2 separate regions of the Homo sapiens genome follow, and region 2 is linked to region 1. Evidence: promoter capture Hi-C in 16 types of primary human blood cells and fetal thymus (Javierre and others, 2016). All regions are on one chromosome and are shown on one strand. Each heading gives the region's core, a stretch centred on a gene start or on the middle of the fragment in contact. The rest is flanking DNA. Distances are from core to core; before and after follow the strand shown. Region 1 overlaps TRAFD1 (TRAF-type zinc finger domain containing 1). Region 2 holds the start of RPL6 (ribosomal protein L6).

Evidence for each region. Contacts are between HindIII fragments. The CHiCAGO score rates a contact against its expected background, and 5 or more counts as called.
Region 2: a contact is called between the fragment with the promoter of RPL6 here and a fragment that was not itself captured in region 1, in 3 of 17 cell types (erythroblasts, fetal thymus and naive CD4 T cells). The highest score is 9.0, in erythroblasts.

The regions. Positions count from the first base shown.
Region 1 is chr12:112,128,799-112,135,484 of GRCh38, reverse strand. TRAFD1 (TRAF-type zinc finger domain containing 1) reads right to left here. Exons shown (of 12, transcript NM_006700.3): 2 at 4,916-4,974; 3 at 612-747; 4 at 419-472. The coding sequence starts at 4,962. Among named protein-coding and RNA genes, the nearest start is that of TRAFD1, 6.6 kb to the right of the region's middle. RefSeq lists an enhancer at 4,722-4,771. The HindIII fragment of the contact is 894 bases long and covers 3,913-4,806 here.
Region 2 is chr12:112,405,044-112,411,835 of GRCh38, reverse strand. RPL6 (ribosomal protein L6) reads left to right here and starts at 2,231. Exons shown (of 7, transcript NM_000970.6): 1 at 2,231-2,249; 2 at 3,180-3,416; 3 at 3,498-3,596; 4 at 4,946-5,089; 5 at 5,494-5,542; 6 at 5,799-5,983; 7 at 6,460-6,647. The coding sequence starts at 3,180. The coding sequence ends at 6,612. RefSeq lists an enhancer at 2,421-2,600. The HindIII fragment of the contact is 30,731 bases long and covers 1-6,267 here.

The DNA.
Region 1 (6,686 bases), core at 3,110-5,609:
TCCAGCCTGGGCAACAGAACAAGACTCCGTCTCAAAAAACAAACAAACAAAAAAGAATTTTAAATGAAATGACAGCTTGTAAGGCAGGCTGTGTGCTAAAGAGGTTATCCCATACTGGCAACTCTAGGGCTGGCTTCATATTCAGTGAGGCTGCCAATAACCAAACCCCAACAGAAATAATAGACTCAGTTCCAAAGGGAGATACTTCGCGAGTCTCAACATACACAAGTGAGTTCCAACAGCCAGGTAGCCGAATCTGGCAGCAGTTACATAGTCAAGGCCTCAAACAGGCTTTGAGAAACAGTATGCATGTGAGCTCACGGAGAACTAACACTCAACCAGACTGGCTTCCTGCTCTGCATGTGGGTCTGTAATCTCAGCAGGACTGGGCCCACGGTAACTCACTCCATGGACTAACCTCATGCTTCTTTAACAGCCTCTTCTCCAACTTCTTGTTACATTTGCAGGTCACCTAGAGTAAGAAGTGAGAATCAGTAAATTGGCTTTGGGACAATATGCTCATTTGCTATTGCACAATAGCAAACAGAATACATTTACGAACAACAGCAAGTATAACACATGTATAAACATTTGAGTACTTGGTGGCTCACCTGACAGTGTTCTGCAGCCATGTGAGTCTCCATGTCAGATTTGGGAAATGGTTCCTTACAGGTAGGACACATACCAATGTTCCTTTGACAGTGGATCTCATGGATGGTAAAGTTAAACACAGGAATTTCTTTTTTGCTACGGAAATAGACCAAAGAAAAAGGCAAGCATTACTGACTAATCTATGCCTTTTCTTGCACAGTGGCATCACATGGAAATCTGTCCTGTCCAATCTTTAGTCTCCATTATTTATCTTTAGTGAATACCTAGCCTACAAACTCATGACTATTACCATTCCTGCTTTTCAAGAACTAAATCCTGGCCAGGCGCGGTGGCTCATGCCTGTAATCTCAGCACTTTGGGAAGCCGAGGCAGGCGGATCACCTGAGGTCAGGCGTTCGAGACCAACCTGGCCAACATGGTGAAACCCCATCTCTACTAAAAATATAAAAATTAGCCAGGCGTGATGGCGGGCACCTGTAATCCCAGCTACTCGGGAGGCTGAGGCAGGAGAATCGCTTGAACCCAGGAGGCAGAGGTTGCTATAAAAAAAAAAAAAAAAAACTGGCCGGGCGCCGTGGCTCACGCCTGTAATCCCAGCACTTTGAGAGGCTGAGGCGGGCAGATCACCTGAGGTCAGGAGTTCGAGATCAGCCTGGCCAACATGGTGAAACCCCGTCTCTACTAAAAATACAAAATTAGCCAGGTGTGGCGGCACATGCCTGTAATCTCAGCTACTCAGGAGGCTGAGGCAGGAGAATCGCTTGAACCCGGGAGGCGGAAGATGCAGTGAGCCTAGATCGTGCCATTGCACTCCAGCCTGGGCAACAAGAGCAAAACTCTGTCTCAAAAAAAAAAAAAAAAAAAAAAAAAATTAAATCCTTTCCAGGTGCAGTAACGCCAGCACATTGGGAGGCTGAGGCAAGCAGATCACTTGAAGTTAGGAGTTCAAGACCAGCCTAGCCAACATGGTGAAACCCCGCTTCTACCAAAAATATAAAAAATTAACCAGGTGTGGTGGCGGGTACCTGTAATCCCAATTACTCGGGAGGCTGAGGCAGGAGAATCACTTGAACCCGGGAGGCAGAGGTTGCAGAAAGCTGAGATCATGCCACTGCACTCCAGCCTCGGGGATAGCAAGATTCCGTATCAAAAAAAAAAAAAAAAAGAACTAAATCCTGAAGGCTCTTCTGTGCAACATTCTGAGTTACCGGTGCTATGCACTACTACATCTAAAAGCTCAGCCTTACTTTCTCAAAGTCAGAGCTGATCACAACATGAAGTCAGATGCCAAAAAGAGTGGAGCTAGGCTATTCCAAAACCATCCATGTCCCAAAGCAGAGTGATACGCTCCAGGATTATTTTAAAACAGAAAACAAACCAAAACAACAACAAAAACAAGTGAAAAAACACCCTACCACTGATTTTCTCTCACTTTTAAGTAGTTTAATTTCATTGGATTTTATTCCATGAAAAGTCAAACCAAAAAGAGAAGACTCCAGCTTTTGGACAGTCAAAGGGGAAGGGGAAATTGTCTCCTGTATGCCTCACATGCCTTTCGAAGCAGGCTGGATGCTTCCTGACTACAGGAACATGCTCTCTGGCTGGGTTGGTAGAAACTTCACTGTAAAGCTGTACAAAAATGAAATCCTGAACCCTTTCCTCCACCAGTCTGGTCTCTCCACTTCATTTTTGCCTTTCTCACTTAGTTTAGTGGTTCAAAGATCATATCTAAGCTATACAAATTAAGGAGGTAAAGTGATAATGTTACATGAAAGAGTAAGACCATTTAAACATGAAAAGATTATACATGTACTCGAACTAAAGGTACATTCTATTCAAAGGCCTTACTTTTACTTATTTGGATAGGACCATTGTAAAATTCCAATTTCACCAGCTAAAAACTACATTAAAGAAGGTACGTATAACAATAATTCAGAAAAATAAAATACTGAACAGGATCAATACAGATAGTCATAAAACACATTATTTAATACCATATTTTGCCTCTGAAGCTGAATACTAGAAGAACTGTCTCCCATACTAAATTATAAATAGCTTATTTCTCTTTTAATAACCTTTAATATTCAGACATTGTCTAAGAAACATTTTGAAGTAGGATAAATGATGTGCCTCCAGCTATAGTCATTCTTCCAAACTGAAAGACCAAGACACCAAGGAAGTGCAAATTCATTTTCATCCAGTGGTGGAATTATCAAGCTAGGGACCCCAAGGCAGCTCTCAAAGCAGCACTGGAAGGTGACAGAACAATCAACTGTGAGAGATGGGAAGAAAACTCAAATGGATAAAGAGGAAAATTACTGACAGATTTAACTTCCCATATTTCTCTCAAATTTTTAGCTTTCTAAGGAAACTACTCATTTTGAATTAATTTAGTTAAAATAATACATCCCAACTTTTTAAAGATGTTGTGAAATGAATACTTTAATACATTACTGGTGGTAGTATAAACTGCCTAAAAACAGTCTGAAAATTCATTTCTAGGACCATAAAATTATATACTCTGTAACACAATAATCCTACTCTTGGGATTATGTATGAATATTTTCATTACAGTATCATAGAATGGTAAAAAATGAAAGTCATTAAAAATACCTAAGCAAGAAAGGAATAGCTAAGTTACATATAGTATACCAACAAAGTGAAAGAAGAAATGTTATATTGTGATTGTAAATCATGTATGTACAAATGCCATGAAAATTAAAGCCAGTAATTACTGCTTAGGGTGTAGAAAACCTGGGTTCCTTTTTCATAATATTGGCAATAATTTTTATTTTAATGGTAAATATGGAGACACTAAATGTCTAGCATTTACTTTACAAGGCTGTTCAGGATAACTTGTTGACATACTACATACACAAGGCCCCTAAAACTTTAGAATTAAAACAAAAAATATTAAGGACCACACCATCATAATATGAAGCAACAAGAATCAAAAGCAGCTGTCAAGTAAGACCACAAAGCATTTACTATTGCACATATTCACCTCTTAGGAAATGCTGAAATAAAAAAGATATTTGCAACAATTATATAAAACAGTTGCCTGCTGGGTTTTTTTCTTTTAAAATTTAACTGCCAACATATTCCTACCAAACATTCCAACCAGACCAAATACTAATATGCTTACTTCCTACCTTCGGAGAAAATGAAGATGTTTTAAGTGAGATAAATGAGCACACAATTCCGTATCCAGATAAAACTGCTAAAAGTCTCAAGGAAGGGCTAGCAAATTAGAGGTGAAATTTCATTTAGATAGAAATAGCTGAAAGGCAAACCAAAGCTTCCAGAAAAATTCCCAAGAACTTTCCAAACACTAAACACAAACAGCCAGAAATTAATTCTTTACAGGTTTAGTCAGCCTTCTATGCTAATCTGCTTTTTTCTTTAATTTCTTTGGCTTTGAATAGCATTGTTTTTCACTAGCTTTCCATTAACTCACCCTTTAACTCTCTTAGCATAGTTATTTATATTTTGTCCTAGGCTTGAGATTCCTCCTAATTGGAGTGGACTGATAAAATAGGTGTATCTTAACTAATGCTAAAAACCAATGTGTCTCTTTTCTTACAAAATCATGTTTTCTTTTGATTATTTGTTTCTGATTACTCTGTTTCAGTAGCTATACATATAAAACCCAAACAAAACTAAAATAGTTTATGAAATGGTAGAAAGTGATAGTGGCATAGCAGAAATACTCTACAATATGGCAAGACACCTACAATGAGATGAAATCTTAATTCCAAGCAGGTAAAGAATATTGTAACCAGCTGTTGCTCTAATTATATTCTAATTCTGCCAAAGTTAGGCTGAGAAGAAAGAAAAAGACAACGATGATGACAAAAATGTTATTTGGCTCAAATATTCCACCAATGAGTTAAACTATTTTCCTTATTCCACATCTCTTTCTACCACAGTTTGCTAAGGTAAACATAGCACATTGTGAAAGAAGTACCCAGTGAAGGAAAATAAAGTAATAAACATAGCAGACAGTTCTGCTTTGCTTTTTTTGTCAGCTTACAGTAACAGCACTTGTATAGCACCAAGATACCAAGATAAGTTCTTAGGAAAACCCCAACAGGAACCAGCTGATTATTAACTTTACAACCGGTTTCATTTCATCAGGAAAGAGATGCTCTTTCTTGTAATTCATGTGGGTTATAAACACCAAAATAGAAAGCTTAACTCAAGACTGTGCCAGTCTTCACTAACAGTTTTTAAATCAGGAAATGATAGTGATTAAGCTTGACTGTCCTCATTCCACTAACATTTCTTAGATTTAATGTCTTACCAGTTGTCACACAGTCGAGTTTCCTGGTCATCTAGAAATTCAGCCATCTTTAGCTCTTCCTGAAAACCACAAAGGAAGACATGAACTTTCTCTTTCATTTCTGCTTTAAAGATGACATGCAAAAAAACAAATAAAAAACTAGTATACAGAAACTGTCACCCAAACCTGCATGTTAAAGCATTTTATTCAATATCCAGTCCCTTGGGATTTTCTTATTTTAAAATTTTCAATTTAAAATAATTTTATTGGATAAGGGAGTTTTAAAAAATAAAAATAATAAAATAAAATACTTTTACTAGGCTGGGTACAGTGGCTCATGCCTGTAATCTCAGTACTTTGGGAGGCCGAGGCAGGCGGATCACTTGAGCCCAGGAGTTTAAGACCAACCTGGCCACAACATGGGGTAACGTCATGTCTACAAAAAATACAAAAAAAAAAAATTACCCAGGCATGGTGATGTGTGCCTGTAGTCCCAGCTACTCGAGAGGCCGAGGCAGGAGGAATGTGCAAGAGGAATGCTTAAGCCTAGGAGTTTAAGGCTGCAGAGAGCCATGATCATGCCACTGCACTCCAGCCTGGGTGACAGAGTGAGACCCTGTCTCAAAAATAATAATAATAATAACATCCTGGCCAGGCGCAGTGGCTCACACCTGTAATCCCAGGACTTAGGGAGGCCGAGGCAGGCAGATCACAAGGTCAGGAGATCGAGACCATCCTAGCCAACATGGTGAAACCCCCATCTCTACTAAAAATACAAAAATTAGCTGGGTGTGGTGGCGCATGCCTGTAATCCCAGCTACTCGCGAGGCTGAGGCAGGAGAATCGCTTCAACCAGGGAGTCAGAAGTTGCAGTGAGCCAAGATCGTGCCACTGCACTCCACCCTAGCGACAGAGTAAGACTCCGTCTCAAAAATAAATAAATAAATAAAAATAAAATAACATCCCTTACAGACTTCATCCAATTACCCTAAAAGCATCATAACAATAGTAAAATTATCAAATAGAGGAAATTAACACTAATACAATACTAGTAACTAATCTATAGAATTCATTCAAATTTCACCAACAAGTCAGGCACAGGGGCTCATGCCTGTACTCCCAGAACTTTGGGAGGCTGAGCTGAAGAGGATCGCTTGAACCCAGGAGTTTAAGATCAGCCTGGGCAACATGGTGAAACCCTTCTCTACAAACAATTTAAAAATTAGCCAGACGTGGTGGCACACACCTGTGGTCCCAACTACTCAGAAGGCTGAGATGGGAAGATCACTTAAGCCCAGGAGGTCAAAGCTGCAGTGAGCAGTGATTGTACCACTGCACCCTAGCCTGGGTGACAGAGTGAGATCCTGTCTCAAAAAAAAAAAAAAAAAAAAAAAAAATCACCATCCCACCCTTTTTCTGGTTCAGCATTCAATCTAGGATCACACACTGCATTTGGCTATTACTTGTAGTTAATCTCCTTTGATTTGGGAGAGTTCTTCAGTCTTTCCTTCTCTTTCATGACCTTGTTAAGCATACTGGCTTTTTTTTTTTTTTTTTTTTTAAACAGAGTCTCACTCTGCTGTCTAGGCTGGAGTGCAGTGGTGCGATCTCGGCTCACTGCGATCTCGGCTCACTGCAACCTCGACCTCAGCCTCCTGAGTAGCTGGGACCACAGGTGTGCACCACCATGCCCAGCTAATTTTTGTATTTTCAGTAGAGATGGAGTTTCACCATGTTGACCAGGCTGGTCTCAAACTCCTGACCTCATATGATCCACCAGCCAGCCTCAGCC
Region 2 (6,792 bases), core at 982-3,481, 280 kb before region 1:
CAAATTTCAGAGAATTTTATATATGGCAAAACTAAACTTAATAAAAACATTTACTTTATAACTAACATGGTATTTTGCCCAACTAATGAATTGTAAATTTTGCAATACCGCAACAAAACACAAGAGGGGGTTCATCTACGTTTTTATTTTAATGACAGGTCATTCAACACATATTTTGGGGCGTTCACTAGGTGAAATTATCTGAGATTGCCAGCAATTTTGAGGGGCCCACGTAAGCAACTGTGCATCTCATTCATTCATTGTGGTACATTTTCTGCAGTTGAAGTTTCTAAGAGGTGCTTTGCTGAGGAAGCTAAACAAATAAAGCTGCTGACATTCCCATTCTCAAAAAAAAGGGCAGTGTTCATCTGATCATTGTATTTGTATCCTCAGTGAATCAGAACCAGAAAAAGGCTAAATGATTCCCAGAGACACAGCCATGAAGCAGGTGGTTTCGATCTGAAAAAATCAAGGTGAAAAGCTCTAGCAACCAGAAAGAAACGAATGGAGGAAAATGGAAAACGCAAGCTAGAAGGTATTACAAATGTGTACATGTTGGCTTAAGGGCTTTGAAGCAGTAAAGAACTATCACATATACTGTGTTGTGTATTTTGTAAAAGATAATAAATATTCTTATTTTTAATTCTAACATGAGCAAAACTCTCATGCATCTTCATTAATCATCTCTTTAATCTTGCAGCCTAATGGTTAAGAGTGCAATCTTTGGAATCAGATCTATGCTGTGAGCAAGTTACTTAATGTCCTTGAGACTCAGTTTCCTCATAATAGTATCATTCACAGGTTGTTGGGAGAATTAAATGAAATAAAGCAAGGCACATTGTATGCAATATTGCCTATTATCTCCCATGCATAAACTTTAGCAGAATACTTGACAACAACTAGGATGTTGATGATCAGATGATTGTAGTGGTGATGGTGACAATAACAAGAGCTAACAGTTCGCCAGGTGCGGTGGCTCACGCCTGTAATCCTAGCACTTTGGGAGGCTGAGGCGGGTGGATTACTTGAGGTCAGGAGTTCAAAACCAGCTTGGCCATCATGGTGAAACTCTGTCTCTACTAAAAATACAAAAAATTAGCTGGGCATGGTGGTGTGCGCCTGTAATCCCTGCTACTTGGGAGGCTGAGGCAGGAGAATCACTTGAACCCAGGAGGCAGAGGTTGCCGTGAGCCAAGATCGTGCCACCACACTCCAGCCTGGGTGACAGAGCGAGACTCCATCTCAAAAAAAAAAAAAAAAAAAAAAAAAAAAAAAAAAAAAGAGCTAACACTTATGTAGCATTTACCATCCATCAAATAATCAAATATGCTTCTCAGTACTGTTGTATATATTATTTAATGTTCCCAACATCCTTATGAAGTAAGTTACTATTGTTATCCTCACTTTAATTTTTTTTTACTTTTTTTAAGACAGAGTCTCATTCTGTAGGCCAGGCCGGAGGACGGGAATGAGAAAGGCCATGTACAAGAGGAAGTAGTCAGCCGCTAAATCCAAGGTAAGGGAAGAGGGGACCACTGACCTAATCTCAAGTGACAAGATTAGAGTTCACTGCACTGCAGCCCAGACCTCCAAGACTCAAGTGATCCTCCCGCCTTAGCCTCCCGAATAGCTGGGACTACAGGCACTAACAACCACACTCGGCTAATTTTTTTTCTTTTTTTCTTTTTTTTGTTGTTGTTATTGTTTTGAGACTGAGTCTGGCTCTATTTCCCAGGCTGGAGTGCGGTGGCACGCAGTGGCACGATCTTTGGAGTGCTGGGATTACAGGCGTGAGCCACCGTGTCCGGCCCTTTTTTTTTTTTTTTTCTTTTTTGAGAATCTTGCTCTGTTGCCTAGAGCGCAGTGTCGCGATCTTGGCTCACTGCAATCTCCACCTCCAGATTCAAGTGATTCTCCTGCCTCCGCGCCTCGACTGGCTGTCATTACAGACACGCACCACCCACGCCCGGCTACCTTTTGTATTTTTAGTAGAGACGGGATTTCACCATGTTGGCCAGGCTGGTCTCGAACTGCCAACCTCAGAGGATCCTCCTGCCTCGGCCTCCCAAAGGGCTGGGATTACAGGCGTGAGCCACCGCACCCGGCCTAGGATTTACTACTTTTTTCTTAACGGGGAAATACTACATTCCCCATGATGCCCCAGATCCGGAAGGAAGTGAGACTCGCACTTCCCATGATTGCTTATAGACCGGAAGCCGGGACCTTAATTCTCTTTCCCATCTTGCAAGGTAAGAATCGCGGGCCTGTCTGCAAGACTTGAGTTCAGGACTCCCAATCCTTCGCCATCCGAACCTGGAGGGCATCCAGTCGACACCTACAGGGGTCGGACATGTCCAAGGCTAACTGAGAGGCCTTCCAGACGCTTCATTTTTGTTGTTTGGGTTTGCGGCAGGGCACAAAGAGGGTGAGGTAGAATGCCGTAGTGGCTCCCTCCGGTTCTTCGCCACTCTCTTGGGCTGGGGGAACGAGGCCCTTTCGGGGACCCGTAGCAGACTGGTGGGTGTTAGAGGAAGCGGGGAGACGGCGCGTGCACTGTGTTCCTGGTCCTGGGTTCCAGAGGATGACACTGAGCCTGTCGCAGCCACGTTGGGGTTCCGCACTGAAGCCAAAAGGTTTCGCGTCTCCCAGCGTCCCCGACCGGAAGTCGCCTCTTGGTCTTTGCGATCTTTTTCTCTGGCTCAATTTGGGCTGATTCCGTTTGTGTCCGCAATTCCTAAATCGAGTTTCTTGAAAAGAGACACTGGTCTTAAGGGTTAAGACGAAAGGTACTGAAAGTAAGGGATTTCAAGTTCTGGTCTTGGTGCTTCTAACCTGTGGACACATTCTGCATCTAAGTTTTCTAATTCGCAAAACAGTAATAAAAAATAATGGTTGTACGGACTTCTGACCGCTCAGTATTTGGCAAAAAACCTAATAGGTGTGAGGTAGTTTCAAATTCTCAAAAAAAAAGTTTATAGTGTATTGGGGAGACAAACCCCAAATGAGTCATAGTGAAGGTTGGAGTAGAATGGGTAGAGTTTGAGAGGAAGGCCTGTATCTTACCGGGGGAGGGATTGTAGTCTGGGGAGCCCAGCCCATTCATGTACAGGTTCATTATTGTCTTGTTAGAGAGATGACTGGTGAAATGCCTTTTTTTATCTACAAAAAAATATTTTTAGATGGCGGGTGAAAAAGTTGAGAAGCCAGATACTAAAGAGAAGAAACCCGAAGCCAAGAAGGTTGATGCTGGTGGCAAGGTGAAAAAGGGTAACCTCAAAGCTAAAAAGCCCAAGAAGGGGAAGCCCCATTGCAGCCGCAACCCTGTCCTTGTCAGAGGAATTGGCAGGTATTCCCGATCTGCCATGTATTCCAGAAAGGCCATGTACAAGAGGAAGTACTCAGCCGCTAAATCCAAGGTAAGGGAAGAGGACCACGGACCATTATGTCTTAACCTTAATTGGCATTCTCTTACTGTTGATGCATTTGTGTCCTTGTAGGTTGAAAAGAAAAAGAAGGAGAAGGTTCTCGCAACTGTTACAAAACCAGTTGGTGGTGACAAGAACGGCGGTACCCGGGTGGTTAAACTTCGCAAAATGGTAAGATGTGGGGACTGTAAATTGGATTTTCTGTTTATGCTTGAATACTGTGAAGATGTTTTTGAATACTTAGATACTGTAAGTTTCTGCATACCGGAGAATTTCTGATAGAAAATAAAGGGCTCTGGGTTTGTAACTTGGCTTCAACATTTACTGTTAATCTTAAGTAATTTAAATTACTCGTCTGTGCTTTGTTCCTTTGCATATAATATGGGAATGAGGCTGAGTGTGGTGGCTAATGCCTGTAATCCCAGCACTTTGGGAGGCTGAGGCGAGCAGATCACCTGAGGTCAGGAGTTCAAGACCAGCCTGGCCAACATGGTGAAACCACATCTCTAGTAAAAATATACAAATTAGCTGGTTGCGTGCCTGTAGTCCCAGCTGCTCTGGAGGCTGAGGCAGAAGAATCGCTTGAACCCGGGAGGCAGAGATTGCACTACTGCACTCCAGCCTGGGCGACAGAGGGAGGCTTCATCTCAAAAAAAGATAAGATGGGAATGAGGGTTTACCTCAAAGAGTTTTTATGGAGATTAAATGAAATAATACATAGCCTGTTCTATAGAACATTTCCCACTAGAGCAGTGTTTCTTGGCCCCCTTTACCACACACAAGACCCAATGTAATCTCAGGATTTGCTCTGTAATTTTCATTATGGGAACATTCCCAAATAAGTTAACACCATACAGTTTCACAGTTGAAGATTACTGCATGAGAGGGAAGATGACAGTTGTTTTGTGAACTCGTTTTCCCATTAGGTGATCATGTTTGTGGTGAAAGTGAGACTGCACTAATGATATGGTATAGTTGGAAATAGGTTATTGTGAGTTATTTGTAGTCATGTCTTTAATGGCCCTTGCATGGTGTCTAACTTCTGCAATAAATGATCTGCCAGTCCTAGTGTCTGGCTTTATGCAATTTGTTTTCCTTTGTGGATGAAGTGGGAGTAAGACTTGTTGCTGTGAGGATCAGATGAAGTGGCTAGGATATGGACACACTTTACTTGAATTGGAAAACAAGCCATGTATCCCTAATCTGCAAAATGTGGCATGTCACACGTGTAATCTCTGAGGTTTAGTTTTTGCTCAAGATTGCAAAGGTGACTTGCTTGATGCTTTCTTTGCTTGAGCACACATCTCATTCATTAAATGGTGTCTCCTTTTTTGCACACAGGATGCAGAAGCATAATTGACCTTTTCCAAGTCTACTTAGCAGAAATGAAAATGGAATCATATAAATACAGTATTATACTTTAAAATAAAAAGGCTGTAGCAAAAGTTTGGCTGACATAGCTTGCTTCTAGTAATCTGAATGGCTTATTTAAATAAGTTGGATCTATGGACTCTCCACAGCCTAGATATTATCCTACTGAAGATGTGCCTCGAAAGCTGTTGAGCCACGGCAAAAAACCCTTCAGTCAGCACGTGAGAAAACTGCGAGCCAGCATTACCCCCGGGACCATTCTGATCATCCTCACTGGACGCCACAGGGGCAAGGTGAGAGTACCTGTGCTTGGGGCGCTTCACTGCAGCTGCCTGGGGTGCCTGGTGGCAATGCGTTTGCACGCTAGGTGTACTTTTCCTTTATTTACCTATGTTTGGGGCAAGGGGAAATGATCTGCAAGATACAACTTAGTTGTTGCAAATAAGAAGTGTAATCCATGGTGATTTATTAGCCATTTCCTGCTGTTGATTATGTTACACATGTTCATTTACTCAAAAACGTGTTTATGTCTGGAGTACTACCTTAGTAGCTTGCTGTGGTTGCTTCCAGAACTGCCGAGCTGTATACATATACATGTAGAAATTTCCTTTACCCAAATTTAGATGCCTGTGATTTTATGAATTCAGAAGTCAGTTTTTAATTGCAGAAAACTAATTATTTTCTTTTTAACTTACAGAGGGTGGTTTTCCTGAAGCAGCTGGCTAGTGGCTTATTACTTGTGACTGGTAAGAAAATCCTTGGATTGTGATGTTCTGTGAAACTTCCATTTTTAAATGCTTGCAGTATACACGTTTGTTTGCTACTGCCTACATGGTAGACACTTATTGCCACAAGTGTCTGAGGCCCATTTCATTGCCTTGTGTGCAAGTGGGTTAGACAAGTGGTCTTCTTTGTGTAGCAACATAACAAGTAATGGTCACCTAAATTGCAGGATGATGATTCTTCCCCCTTTTCCTTGCTAAATTAATTTTTCCCCCTTAGGACCTCTGGTCCTCAATCGAGTTCCTCTACGAAGAACACACCAGAAATTTGTCATTGCCACTTCAACCAAAATCGATATCAGCAATGTAAAAATCCCAAAACATCTTACTGATGCTTACTTCAAGAAGAAGAAGCTGCGGAAGCCCAGACACCAGGAAGGTGAGATCTTCGACACAGAAAAAGAGGTAAGTTTCTACTTGTCATCTCCTGTGTTAGCACTGGCCCTTCTACCTGGGAGTGAAAAGAAACAGGTTGCACAAAAAGAAGAAAAATGAAAGGTTAAATAATGAGGAATGCTGGGAGATACTTAGTATTCCAGATTCTTCTAAATTGAGTAGTTCTTTTGGCAGTCTGGGAGCTCAACTTAGAATCCTAAAGTTTGGTGGAATTGTGTGGGAATTAACTGCTACCATCGTATTGGGAATGTGCCCTTACTTATCCTTGATGTGTCCTAAAGTATACAAAAGCTTAAGAGCTACTTTTATTACATTAAAAAATGGGTTGTGTTTCACAGCATTCCAAGGAAAGGATTGTCAAAATTGTCTTTAATGTTTTCTAAATATTCTTGGGGATTAGTACTTGTGAGACAGGACTCCTTAGTTGACCTACAAGTAATTTGGTATGTGCCTGTTTTAAAATGTTTGATTTTCTCTTTATTTAGAAATATGAGATTACGGAGCAGCGCAAGATTGATCAGAAAGCTGTGGACTCACAAATTTTACCAAAAATCAAAGCTATTCCTCAGCTCCAGGGCTACCTGCGATCTGTGTTTGCTCTGACGAATGGAATTTATCCTCACAAATTGGTGTTCTAAATGTCTTAAGAACCTAATTAAATAGCTGACTACATTTTGTGTCTCTTTTTTTAATTTTTGGTTTTTAAAAAAAATTCTTACCTACCTGAAGGTGTAGTTTGACCATGCCAGCTCACCTGGGGGTTTTCCTTAGTAGAGAATGGGATTGGAAGGGAGTGGTGTCTACAAGAGAGCTAGTTT